Linked DNA regions of Homo sapiens: regions 2 and 3 are each linked to region 1. The links are contacts of gene promoters, found by promoter capture Hi-C in blood cells and fetal thymus (Javierre and others, 2016). All regions are on one chromosome and are shown on one strand. Each heading gives the region's core, a stretch centred on a gene start or on the middle of the fragment in contact. The rest is flanking DNA. Distances are from core to core; before and after follow the strand shown. Region 1 holds the start of TMPRSS11D (transmembrane serine protease 11D). Region 2 overlaps UBA6 (ubiquitin like modifier activating enzyme 6). Region 3 has its middle 25 kb from the start of UBA6-DT.

Region 1 (4,626 bases), core at 1,100-3,599:
GATTTGGAATGCGTTTTTGACAGCGATGGCTCGTCCCCCCGCCAACTTTTGTCTCAGGTTCTTTTGGACTGTTGGGAGGCAGGGCATCTGATTGTCTTTGGCATGTCTCTGCAGTCAGTTAATCATGTCTTGAGCACAGACAAAAGGGAAGAAAATGGAAACAAGATTTGTTTGGTAGGAGGAGTCCTGCTAAGACTTGTCTGTCCCTGAGCTGAGATATGCTCATTTACCTTAAATCTTTCCATAAACTACATTCCAAATTCCAGTTTATAAATCTTTATCCTATTTCCCAAACCTCATCTCACACGTTTTCTGTAATCTGGTGGGCACAGATATTCCCTTGGTGAACCTGAGAAAATCTAGAGTGACCAAGGATCTGAAATGAGTAACACAGCTGTTCAGGTTCCTGGGCCCTACGGTAGGATTTCCTTCTTCAGACAAGGGAAGAAGGTAGATAAAGAAAGGAGCATTTCATCTTGCAGCAGCATGGAAGAGAGCTGGGAGTTTAATTTTTTATAAAAAAAGCAATCAAACCATCCAAGGCAGCCAATTTTCAACCAAAAGTATTTCAGAATTACCTGAAGATTTATCTAAAATTATGCCAAAATTACCTACAATTACCTAAAAAAAGTATATTGTACAATTTAATTTTCCTTCTGTTATTTGATATGAATACCTAGCTGCTATTTATTAGTAGTAGATACAGGCTATTAAAGAGATAAAATATTCCAAAAAGTGTGATCCTTAGAAACCAAAATTCCACAGAAGAGTTATTTGTAATTGGCAAGGTTGGCTCTGATTGAGTGTCAAATTTCCTGTACAATGATGGATCAACTTAGAAATTTGATTGATTCAAAGCCTTCTGAAATTGTACAACTCTTTCAGGATTTGTATCATTTACATGTCTTCTTTTATTATTTTCCATTGAATGATGTTTTGATATACACTTGACTGCTTATAAGGGCAATATTTTAAAATCAGAGTAATTTCTTTAAAATTAAAATATTTCAGCAAAATACATTTTAAAATGCACTATATTACCCAAATAATATTACACTTATAGATGGTTTAAGAACAATAAAAAATATAATTCATAAACTCACTGCTTTAGTATAACAAACCTGATTAATGTTCTATGTTCTTTATTAGACTTTCTCCCATGTATAGCTTTACAAAGTAGTAGTTGATGAGTAAATACAATTTTGTGATTTGTTTTTTTCACATAAAATAAGAACAAACTCAGTATGTAAATTACTTCATAGGTTTTTAAGCTACTTTAATACATTTCTTGTATCTATTACATGAATATGAAATGATTTTATTTCTTCTATCATTGGAAGCTTAGACAGCTATCCACTTTTCACTCATATATATATATTCAAGTGCATATAACTGTATATATATTTTTATTACTTAAAATGGTTTGACTTTTGATTGAATTTTCCAATGTTCAGGAGATTTAAAATAAATTCAGCTGCACTTATTATAGCTAACACATTGTTCATGCTTTTGTTGATCCTTTCAGCATGACTTATCAGTATCATGTTTTCCTGTAGTCATAGAAAAATAATATGCATAATATATACACTTAAGTGCACACATAAACATACCAAGTTACATAATTATTTCATTGTTTTGAGATGTTAACGTGTGACTTGATTATCTCACAACTTTTTTCTTTCTTTATGTGAAAGTATAGGAAAATACTTATTCATTAACTAAAAAGAAAACCAGAGAGAGATTATTTTCTCTTAAATGTTAGCAAGAACTTTCTTGAAAATAATTCTACAACTATATAAAAAGTAGAAAAATACCGTCTTTACTTTCTAAAAGTGTACTTTAGGATTTATGGCATATTTATTTAATAGCTAGCAATAAAACTGTAATGGAAGTCAAAACACAGAATCCTCGAAAAGTTCCAAACAACACAAGAATTGTTTACTGATTGCAATTTTAAAATCCACACACCACTTTTCGAAATGTTGCACATGAGAAACAAAACCACTTCCTTATTTAAAGATATGTTGTCATAACGCTAAGCTAAGTATTTTTGTGGTTGTTTTATAAAAAATTCAGTTAAGCAACTATGTACCTTATGAAAATAATATCAAGCATATTATCTAAACAATATCTAAGAGTTTCGATGAAGTTTTCAGAGAAGTAACTAGAAGATTGCTAGACACAGTCAAAATTTGCTAAGCTTCTTTATATTTTTCCCATACTGTAAGATATAGTAAAACTTTTAAAGCTACAAAGACAAAAACAGGACTTACCTATACATTTTAATCCTTAATGAAGAGGTTCTTTTTTCTGCCTACTCAACTGCTTTGAGATTCCCACTCAAATGAATGACTCTCATGTATTACGTGTGATCTATAGTTGAGGACAAAGGAGGAAATCTCATGTTAATTAAAATCTAACTTGTTAAACAAGTTTGAGGGAATCAACAAACCAATAGTATGACTTGTGGAAGATAATTGGAAATAGACAGGGAATTTCACAAATTAGTAAGAAATTTATTTATTCTGGTAAATTGAGATTAAACACAATTACAATTGACAGGTATTTTGTGAAAGCCTGTGACTACTTCACAACTGTAGAGTCACTTTTAGTTCAAGAGGATTTGACACTTATTTTGCTCATGTTATCATATTGTTATACACCTCATTCCTCAACACAGCCAGCCAAGATCCATCAGAACATACTTTCCGTACATTAATGGGCACTACCTCTGAATTCCCTCATCTGTATGATTAAATGCAGTTTTTCTCATAATATATGAAACAGAGCATAATTGAGTAGATGCACAAAGTAAGACAAGCAAACAGAATAGTTGGAACTAAAATCCACTTTGTTTTTTTCCAAATATGATCATTTGAAAAAGCTATTCTAACACACTACTACTAGAAGAGGAGCAGACAGAAGAAGACAGTATGAGTGTGTAGGGTGTTAGGGTAAGGATGGAGAGCTCAAGAAAACAGGCAAGACTAGCAGGGAGGGGAAAAAGGGCATTCCTGTCTAACATTGCAAAGAAGCAGGATATAAATTTGGAAGGTTATACTGGGGTTACTTTGTGAGAACTAATGAATGCTAAAGAATTGGAACTTGTAATAGAATTATTACAATATTATTAGTAGTACAATATGAATTCTAGTCTTAGCTTTTTCACCAACTAATTGTGTAGCTTAAGGGAAAAAATTTACTTATTTCTCCATAAGTCACATGTATCTACTAAGAAAAGTGGAAGCTGAATCAGGAGGTCTTAGAGGACTCTCAATTATAAAATTCTATGACTTCATCTTGTAAAGCACTGACAACTAATGGTTAAATTTACTCCAATACTGCAACTTCAGATGTGTTCAGTTACTTGACTTTTTCTATATAATGTGCAAATCAAACAACAGAGACAGGAATAAGTGGTTACTTATATGTTTTTTCCCAAATATATTTGGGAAATATATTTTTTACATACAGTATCTCATGCCTGACATTCTGCCATTGATTTTTTAGCAATAAATAAATAACTATAATAAGATTTAAAAGTTTAAAAAATAAAGTTACCTAAACAAACCATTTTTAAATTTTACATGTTAACTTCAAGTACCTTTAAATATAGTTATATCATGGTATATAATTTTGTATTATGCTTTTTATACTTAATATTATTTCACAAATATATCGCTATTACTAATTTTTATTTTTAGTAGCTATATATTTATAACTTTGTATTTTTATATAATTTAAAACACAAATATGGTACCAAGATTCATTAATTATTAGCAGTTTTAATGGTTGCATTTTAAAAGGTAAATCACATTACATTGAATGGACTTATCATAAAGCACCAAAGTTATTTTCTAATGTGAAGTATTTAGACATTTTCTATTTTTTTATTGTAGATGATTCTTTGAATGACCACCTTCACAAACATAGTTTTTCTTTGTCATCCTACAGTTGAATTTTTCTTCAGAATAAACTGAAGAGGCTTATTGAGCCAAGTGATTTAAATATTTTAATGGCTTATAAAATTATACTTTTGTTTTAATAATTTTTACTAGGATTTAAAGTGTTATTTTCTGTTTTTTGCTTACAGAAATTTTCTCTAATTATGCATGCTCTTTCTTGTATGTCTTTATTTCCTGGAATACTCAGCAGCAAAGGCCTTTTTACCACGTAGGTACTTACTCATCATATGTTGTTTAGATGTCTCATAATTAACGTATTAGTGCAGATCCCAGTGCCCTATTACTATTCACAACAGAACGTGGGGATGAGTCGGGGGAAAGGCATGGGGAAAATTGAATTCAGTCTGAAAGTGACTTCCCGCATGATGAGCTCAACGCAGAAAGGGAGGTGGGGCAGGAAATTATGGTTTGTGAGGCAAAGGAATTGTTCATAACAGGGACCAGTTTAAAGATGTTGACTCTTCATCTTTAGATCCTCAGGGAGTGGCAGGATAGGCCTTGACCTATTCTCTTTTTAAGAGATTGCATGAATGAGAAATGTAGAATCACGTTATACAAAAAATATAAGAGTCCTCTGCCTTCTGGTTACAGGCTGATTTTATTCTTCTGGTTGAACAGTCACAAAACCAAGGCAGCTAGACTGAGAACGAATGACAGGAAC
Region 2 (4,626 bases), core at 538-3,037, 190 kb before region 1:
TAACACTGGTGTTGGCACAGATTTCCTGGATAACACCAAAGGCACACACAACAAAAGCAAAAATTGTCAAGTGGGACTATATGAAACTAAAAACCAGTAAAGGAAACAGTCAACAAAATCAAAAGACAACCTACAGAATGAGAGAAAGTATTTATAAACCATGTATGTGATAAGGGGTTAATAATATCCAAAGGAATGCCTATAACTCAATACCAAAAAACCCCTGAACTGACCCAATTTTTAAAAATGGACAAAGAGTTTGAATAGATCTTTCTCCAAAAACATGCACATAGCCAACAAGTATATGAAAAGGTGCTCAACATTCACTAATCATCAAATACAAACCAAAACCACAATGAGAGATCACCTCACACCTGTATGGATGACCATTATAAAACAAAACAAAACAAAACAAAACATAACAAGTATTGGCAACAATGTGGAGAAATTGGAACTTTTGTGCACTGTTGGAAATGTAGAATGGTGCAGCTGCCATGGAAAACAGTATGAAGCTTCCTCAAAAATTAAAAAATAGAATTACCACATAATCCAGCAATTCCATTTTGGGTTATTTCTCCAAAAGAATTAGAAACAAGATCTTGAAGAAATATTTGCTACACAGATCTGCTATATGACAATGTACACAGAGTTAAAAATATAGTTGTCCCGTGAACAACATGGGTTTCAAACACACAGGTCCATTTATATGCAGATTTTTTTCAATAAATATACTGAAAATTTTTTTGGACATTTGTGACAACTTGAAAAAAACTCACGGATGAACTTTGTAGCCTAGAAATACCCAAAAATTAAGAAAATGTCATGAATGCATGAAATCTATGTACATATTAGTCTATTTTATCATTTACTACCATAAAATATACACAAATTATAAAAAGTTAAAATTTATCAAAACTATGCGTACACTTACAGACCATAGATGTCGCCATTTGCAGTTAAGAGGAATGTAAACAGATGTAAAGATGCAGTATTCAGTCATAAGTGCATAAAAGTCACTGTAGTACATACTGCACTACTGTAATAATTTTGTAGCTACTTCCAGTTGCTATTGTGGTGAGCTTAAGTGATGTATCTGGTTAAAGCACATGTGACTCTATTCATCTTTGCCTGAGCAGTTCCTCTCTCCAGTAAATTGAATATTGCAGGAAAAAGTGATGTCTTGAGATTCTTGCATATTTTTTCATCATGTTTAATGTGCAATACTGTAAACCTTGAATGACATCATGGGACCCATACAAAGTGCCACCAGTAATGTTGCAAGTGCTCCCAAGAAGCTGAGAAAAGTCATGACATTACAATAAAAAGTTGAATTGCTTGATTATGTACTGTAGACTGAGGTCTGCAGCTATGGTTGCCTGACATTTCAAGATAAAATGAATCCAGTGGAAGGACCATTGTAAAAAAAAAAAAGAAAAGCCATCATTGTAACTACACCAGCAAGTATGAAAACCTTACACTTTTTGTGAAAGATTTTTTTATCTTATATTGAAAATGCAGCACTGATATGGGTGCAGGATTGCTGAAAGAAAGTCATAGACTCTAACATGATTTGAGAAAAAGCGAAGTCATTATAAGACCACTTAAAGCAAAAAGAAGGTAAAGGATATAAAGCTGTAGAATTCTTTTTTTTCCATAGGTTACTGGGGTACACAGGTGGTGTTTGGTTACTTAAGTTCTTTAGTGGTGATTTGTGCGATTTTGGTGCACCCATCACCCAAGCAGTAAAGCTGTAGAATTTAATGCCAGCAAAGGATAGTTTGATAACTTTAGAAAGAGGTTTGTCTTAAAAAAAAGTCAGACACAACATGAGAAGCAGCTTCTGCCGATCAAGAGGCAGCAATGAGTTTCTAGACGCCATAAGGAAAATCACTGAAGAGAAAGGATATCTACCTGAATAGGTTTTTAATGTAGAAGAAAGTGCTCTATTTTGAAAAAAATTGCCACAAAGGACATTTATTAGTAAGGAAGAGAAGCAAGCACCAGGATTTAAGGCAGAAATGGATAGTTAACTCTACTGTTTTCTGCAAATGCTTTCAGGTTTATGATCAGGACTGCCCTTACATATAAAGCTGCTAACCCCTGAGCATTGGAGGGAAAAGATAAACACCAGCGGCCAGTCCTCCGGCTACATAACAAGCAGGCCTGGACAAGAACCCTTTTTCTGGATTGGTTCCATTGATGCTTTGATTCTGAGGTCAGGAAGTACCTTGCCAGCAAGAACTTTTAAAGTTCTTTTGCTATTGGACAATACACCTGGCCACCCAGAACCCCAAAGTTCAACAATGAAGGTGCTGAAGTGGTTTACTTGCTTCAAAACACAACATCTCAAATTCAGCTTCTAGATCAGGGCATCATAAAGGACCTTTAAGGCTCATTACACAAGGTACTCTATAGAAAGGATTGTCAATGCTATGGAAGAGAACCCCAAGAAAGAGAACATCATTAAAGTCTGGAAGATTATACCATTGAAGATGCTATCGTTGTTACTGACATCAGACAATCTGGCAGAAGGGTTCCGACGATTCAAGATTGCATTGATTTCTTTAATGACATGGACCCTTCTACAACAGGGGCACCAAAAAGAAACTAAAGAAAATGACAGGAGGATCAGTATTGTATAGAAACATTTTTCCAGAAATGAGAAAGCAAAAAAAGTCACATAGTAGTTACATATTTCCATAGTTACACTGTGTGTGCCTGCCTCTCTTTCCCTACCCTTCTGCCTCCACCTCTTTTGATTCTGCCACCCCTAAGACAACAAAACCAACTCCTCCCCTTCCTCCTCCTCAGCCTACTCAACATGAAGACAACAAAGATGAAGACCTTTATGATAATCCAGTTCCATCTAATGAACAATAAATATATTTTCTCTTTCTTACATGATTTTCTTAACATTTTATTTTCTCTAGCTTACTTTATTCTAAGAATACTGTGTATATATATATATACAGTATATAATACATATAATATTAAAAATGTGTGTTAATTGATTATTTACATTATCAGTAAAATTTCCAGTCAATAGTAAGGCTATTAGCATTTAAGCTTTGGGAGAGTCAAAAGTCATATGTGGATTTTCGACTGCACAAGAGGTAGGGTGGTAGGGGAGTTGGCACTCCTAACTCCTTCATTGTTCAAGTGTCAACTATACTATACTACACACTTAAAAACTTGTTAGTAGGGTAGAGTTCATGTTATGTGTTTTTACTACAATAATAACTTTTTAGAAGGTAAGTTGGAGTTATGTTCAAAATAACTCGGTAAGCTATAGTATTTGGACTTGTACTATGAGACAAAATGGTCGGAACTGTGGCTGTGTGAAAGAGAACGGAGAGAAAAGAGAACTTCTGGAATTTATCTTTATCTTACCCTACCTTCATCAAGCTTACTGATGAAATCTATCTCCCTGAGATATTAAGAGGCTAAGGATCCTCATTTCATGCCTTGTCCCTAAAATAAATCATTGTCCAAAGTCCTAGGTCTTATACTAGTCCCCATAAGCAACAGATACAGATTTTTAAAAAGAGAAAATACAGCTGGGCACGGTGGCTCGCGCCTGTAATCCCAGCACTTTGGGAAGCCAAGGTGGGCAGATCATGAGGTCAAGAGACTGAGATCATCCTGGCCAACATGGTGAAACCCCGCCTCTACTAAAAAAAATACAAAAATTAGCTGGGTGTGGTGGTGCATGCCTGTAGTCCCAGCTACTCAGGAGGCTGAGGCAGGAGAATTGCTTGAACCCAAGAGGCGGAGGTTGCCATGAGCCGAGATCGCGCCACTGCACTCCAGCCTGGATGACAGAGCAAGACTCCATCTCAAAAAAAAAAAAAAAAAAAAAAAAAAAAAGAAAAAATACAAAACTACCAAATCTTCAGATTCAGTCACTATAAAAAAAAAAACCCTCAAACATTTAAGTTAATTTTTAAAATCTAAGAAAATAAGAGCTGGTTATTGTGTGAAAATCTCACATTTTGGCATTTTGGTCTTTGTATTTCTTTTTTTTTTTTTCTTGACATGGAGTTTTGCTCTGTAGCCCAGGCTGGAACACAGTGGTGCCATCTCAGCTCACTGCAAGCTCTGCCTCCCCGGTTCATGCCATTCTCCTGCCTCAGCCTCCCGACTAGCTGGGATTACAGGCGCCCGCCACCGCCACCACACCCGGCTAATTTTTTGTATTTTTAGTAGAGACGGGGTTTCACTGTGTTAGCCAGGATGGTCTCGATCTCCTGACCTCGTGATCCACCCGCCTCGGCCTCCCAAAGTGCTGGGATTACAGGCATGAGCCACTGTGCCTGGCCACATCTTTGTATTTCTACTAAGAAAACCTATATGTAGTCAGTAACTCTTTTAGTATTCCCTAATAATTCACTCTTTTAGTACCCACATAAATTTCTGGCTTCCTGCCCTCACTATGACAAATTCTTAAGGAAGATATTAAAACTCAAATATGCACATTGGTAAACAACTAGATGTTTGCAATAAGACACGCATACCAAGTGCTAACAGCTACACCAAAAGATACTCTCCGTCAAACAAAAGAAAATGGCTTACCTCTAATAATAACAGCTAAACTGCTATATTCTATAACTCTCAGTAAAGCAAACT
Region 3 (4,626 bases), core at 1,147-3,646, 160 kb before region 1:
AGGGACTAGATACGTTCAAGATGGCGGTTCCATCTTCCCTTCTCTGCCAGCCAGTGTACAGTAAGGAACAGACAAGATGGCGCTGGGATCAACTGGAAAGTCCATTTGCATAATAAGATTAGGGTGGGGAAACCAGCCTTTCTCACTCGCAATGTAAAAGTCATACCTGATCGAACCAATCTGTGAGCCCTATGTAAATCAGACACTGCCTCCTCAAACCTGACTGAAAAATCAGGTGCGTTGGCCAACCAGCCAGCCCTTTCAGCTCAGAGACCCCTCTCTCTATAAAGAGAGCTGTTTCTCTTTCTTTTCTCTTCTGCCTATTAAACCTCCTCTCCAAACTTCCTGGTGTGTGTCCGTGTTCTAAATTTTCCTGGCATGCAATGACGAGCTCCAGGATATATATCCCAGACAATGTAGCTGCTTTACTGGGTCAGCCAGGCAGAGCAGCAGGCAGGGCAGCTGCAGGCGTGCCCAGGGGCACTGGGTGGCGCTCTGGCCTCACTGCCTCTCCCAGCGAGTGATAGCAGCCCAGCTTGCAGATGGCCTCCAGCTGAGGCATCCAGCACTTGGGGCGTCACTCAGCTCTGCGGCCTCCGCTGCTTGGGACCAGCCTGCGGCCGACACCACTATCTTCCTACTTTATTGTTTGACTTAACTACTTAAGCAACAGTGACTGGAGACAAAATATAATAACTTCAAAATATAATAATAAATGTGTATAAAATAAAATGACTTTCTAGGCTTTATGGTATAAATGCATCAGGATCTGCCTGCTAATGCAGCTAGACTGTAGTATGTAAGAGGAAGAGTGTTCAAAATAAAACTAGAGAGGAGCCTAAATAAAACTAGAGAGTTCAAAATAAAACTAGAGAGGAGCCAAAATAAAAAGAGTGTTCAAAATAAAACTAGAGAGGAGCCGAGTTACTTGGGAATTTGTAAATACAACAGGTATTTCAGGTTCAAGTTCAGGGATGATAGCCTTTCCTTCTTAAGCCTATTCTTTTTTTTTTTTTTTTTTTTTTAGACGGAATCTCACTCTGTTGCCCAGGCTGGAGTGCAGTGGTGAGATCTTGGCTCGCTGCAACCTCTGCCTCCAAGATTCAATTGATTCTCCTGCCTCAGCTTCCTGAGTAGCTGGGATTACAGGTGCCCTCCATGGATCTCAGATAATTTTTGTACTTTTAGTATAGGGGGGTTTCACCATGTTCGCTAGGCTGGCTTGAACTCCTGATCAAGTGATCCACCTGTCTGGGCCTCCCCAAGTGCTGGGATTACAGGTGTGAGCCACCACACTGAGCCTTAAGCTTATTCTTTCTGTCATCTCTCTCCATACACACTCATGCATACACACATCTATATGTCATTCTGTTTGTTAAAGCCTTTACTTTCATGGATGAAAATAGAAAAAAATTTGTAGGTACACAAGAGTTATGCAGGAGCAATCACATTTGAAAGTAAAGACAATCTAATCAGACACTGATGACTTAAGTTAAAGATAAACTGTGCTAAGATGTGGCAAGTTAAAGGGAATAGACAACTTATATTTCTCTCCTTCTTTCCCTGATCCTCTGAAATCCACATTGCCTTATAATCTTTCCCTAGGCCATCCATGCTTCTGAATACTCCCCTTCTTTCATCTCTTCACCCTTATACACAGTGAACAAAGGCACTCTTGGCATGACCAACTTGCGGTCTAGGCAAGTCCAGGCTTCAGCTATGACTGCAGTATTGCTCCATGAGCACACAACTGCATTTACTTTGGCAGTCTCTACTAGAACTGCAGTGGGACACTGATAATTGATTCCAACCTTGAAGCCAGAGAGGCACAGATCTGCAAATTTGTCTTGATGGTGGCAATGCAGCCTTCATATTTGTGGAAACCATATTACACTGATATAGTAATAATGTATTATTACCATAATACTATACAATAGGTAGTGAGCCATACATTTATCATTTCAAGTGTCACATATCATCTGGTTGGCTAGCTCAGAGCAAGCATTAGTTATCTCTGCTACAGAAAATGTTTGTGGTAGGTTTTCCCAGCAGAGATAGCTGGATATATACACGGAGGGAAGTAGACATAAAGATAGAGAATAAGTATAAAATTTTGATATATTGACATTCAAGGCACCATGAAATCTGAGAGAAACAATGATGGAGAATACACACTGGTTGAAAATGTGCTTAAGGTTATTGTGTATTGGGTGCTCAATATTAAGGTTTCTACATAAATATTATAGATGGCCTCATTATCTAATATGAAGACACAATCAAAGTGCTAAAGAGTTGATGGAATTGAAGACCTCAGCTTCAGCTAAGGAAAGCTAAGGAGCTGGGTAAATGGAGAATTTTGCTCCTATAATCAACTGATAGAGATTCTATCAACAGAAAGGCAAATAAAAACTGTAGTTACCACCAACCAGCAAAAATTCAAGAAAGCCTGAAGACCTGTACTTAAGTCAGCTAGCTTCTGAATCCAATCCAACACTTAGTCAATGCTTTCCTTTTCAACGGTGTAGTGACTAGAGGCAAAGCTATTTGATGCATCTTCTTTGCTAGTGATCGCTTCCTAAGGCAAACTTCATCACCACGTATTGGCTCTAGGTCCACAAACAATTTTGTGGAGCCATGCTTGACCACAATAGTCCCGTTGAAGAAGGTATTAAAGGAGTCATCTTCTCTCAGAATGCTCTTATTGTTTGGCATTGGATTTGGGCTAAATTTTGTATTCCAGGCATTAGAGCTCCTACCAGTTATTTACATTATTTACAATCTGGATAATACCCTCACTGATGTAATTAGGGATGCTTTAATGCATAGTGGCAGGGATAGGAAGTAAAGATGTGAGAGCAAATATTAAGTCCAGGTTATCATCTCCGACTAACTGAGAATCAAAGTATCTATTTTTATGAAGCAGTGAAATGACAGTTTTAGTATGCCAAGAGGTAAACACTACTCAGAAAAGTTTTCCTACATGTTCTTTATTATCAAATAAAGATAATAATAATAATAATAATAATAATAATTTAAAAATTACCTGCATGAATTCTTAGCCCTCTGCTGGTGAGATTCTGTCGTTATTTCTATGTCTTGGGAAATTGAAGATGAAGGAAATAGGTAATAAATAGATTTTACACCATAAAGTTTTGTGGATAGATCTGATGAATGCTTTAAATGCCAGATGGTCCCATTACTTTTATTACTTCCACTGGACAGAAATGATGGACATTGATGACACCTAATTGCAAACTCTATTTAGTTGCTGAAAGTGTGACAGACACCATACACCTTGTTTCTTAATAGATCTCCTTTCTTCTTGCTAACGGGACCCCACTTTTGTTCAGATATAGTGCTGCCATGAGCTTCATGGCAGGCTGTTTTTCCCTAGCTCTGCACACTGAGTTATGACTGTGAAACTGTCCCTATCAACTGCATAAAATTAGCCAGGGAAGAAGGGAAGGAGAGAAACAAAAACGAACCAAGCTTGTAGCACATTCAGCATTAATCATTAGGTCAGCTTGCTGTCTGACCTGCTTCCTCATGGTTGTTTCCTGCCTATTGCCCCAGAATCACGTAGACCCTGTCACAAGATTATAGTTCCCCTAGATAACATCTTAAGCATTGTGAAGCTTTTATCCATTTGAGATATTCTTTCAAGTCCCGCATACCGGTGAAACTACTGATGTGAAACTACTGATGCCAGCAGGTCTGAAGGACCCCATGAGGTGCTGACTCAGCAAAGAATGCAGTTTCCACATCCTGATGATTTCATCTCTCTTCTCCTGACCCATCAGCAACCTCAATTTTCCAGCCCCTGGCTGTCCACAACCCCTTAAAAACGTCAGCCCAGAACTCTCATGGAGATGGATTTGAGGGTTTTTCCCATGTCCTTGCTCAGCTGCCCTGTAATCATTAAACTCTCTGCTGCTAACTCTGCTGTCTCAGTGTATTGGTCTGTTATTGCATAGCAGGCATATGAACCTGGTGGTCCTGTAACAATTGGTCTAAAATAATCATAATCTCAATCCACTCAAAAGTGGATTGGCTTAGACATTGACATATGAGACAATTCTGAGTAATAGAATTACTCAGTGAGGGATAGTCTTTCAGATGGGTGACTAAAGAAGATTCTTCCTTTTGATAAGAACAGACACATTAAGGAAATATTCTTTTTTGTGTCTTTGGGCTTGTTCTATGAGGGAGTGACACTTGCAGCTGTTACAGGTTTCTCCTGAACATTATGGAGAAGCCTGAGATCAAAAGCTGACAGAGTGAATATGCTGAAGTCCTAAATTCACTGGAGTTCTGAATCAACTCACCCTGGGATTGACTGTTACGTGAAATAGTAAATGTCATTTTGCTTAAGTCATTTTTAGTTGTGTTTTCAGTTACTTGTAGCTTAAAGCATTCTAACTGATAAAGGTAGTATTTTTCTCTATTATCTAATAAAAACATTGAGATAGCAAACGTATCATTTCCACACAAAGATATCACAAAGAATTTTGCAGGGCTTTGCATATTTTATTTCTCTTAGTATGTATATATATTTACAAAATTACAAATATGTATAATCTATATGCATTATAAATGATATATAAATTATATTTATAATTATATTAC

What was found. The method cuts DNA at HindIII sites, captures the fragments that hold promoters and counts their contacts. A CHiCAGO score of 5 or more calls a contact.
Region 2: a contact is called between a fragment that was not itself captured here and the fragment with the promoter of TMPRSS11D in region 1, in 1 of 17 cell types (monocytes). The highest score is 5.0, in monocytes.
Region 3: a fragment that was not itself captured here is called in contact with the fragment with the promoter of TMPRSS11D in region 1 in 2 of 17 cell types (M0 macrophages and M2 macrophages); the score reaches 5.2 in M0 macrophages.

The regions. Positions count from the first base shown.
Region 1 is chr4:67,881,653-67,886,278 of GRCh38, forward strand. It overlaps TMPRSS11D (transmembrane serine protease 11D), which reads right to left and starts at 2,350. Exons shown (of 10, transcript NM_004262.3): 1 at 2,274-2,350. The coding sequence starts at 2,281. The HindIII fragment of the contact is 7,558 bases long and covers 2,199-4,626 here.
Region 2 is chr4:67,690,378-67,695,003 of GRCh38, forward strand. All of the region lies in intron 2 of UBA6 (ubiquitin like modifier activating enzyme 6), which reads right to left. Among named protein-coding and RNA genes, the nearest start is that of UBA6, 8.5 kb to the right of the region's middle. The HindIII fragment of the contact is 2,554 bases long and covers 511-3,064 here.
Region 3 is chr4:67,723,642-67,728,267 of GRCh38, forward strand. It overlaps the pseudogene LOC100419046. Among named protein-coding and RNA genes, the nearest start is that of UBA6-DT, 25 kb to the left of the region's middle. RefSeq lists an enhancer at 1-166. The HindIII fragment of the contact is 2,182 bases long and covers 1,306-3,487 here.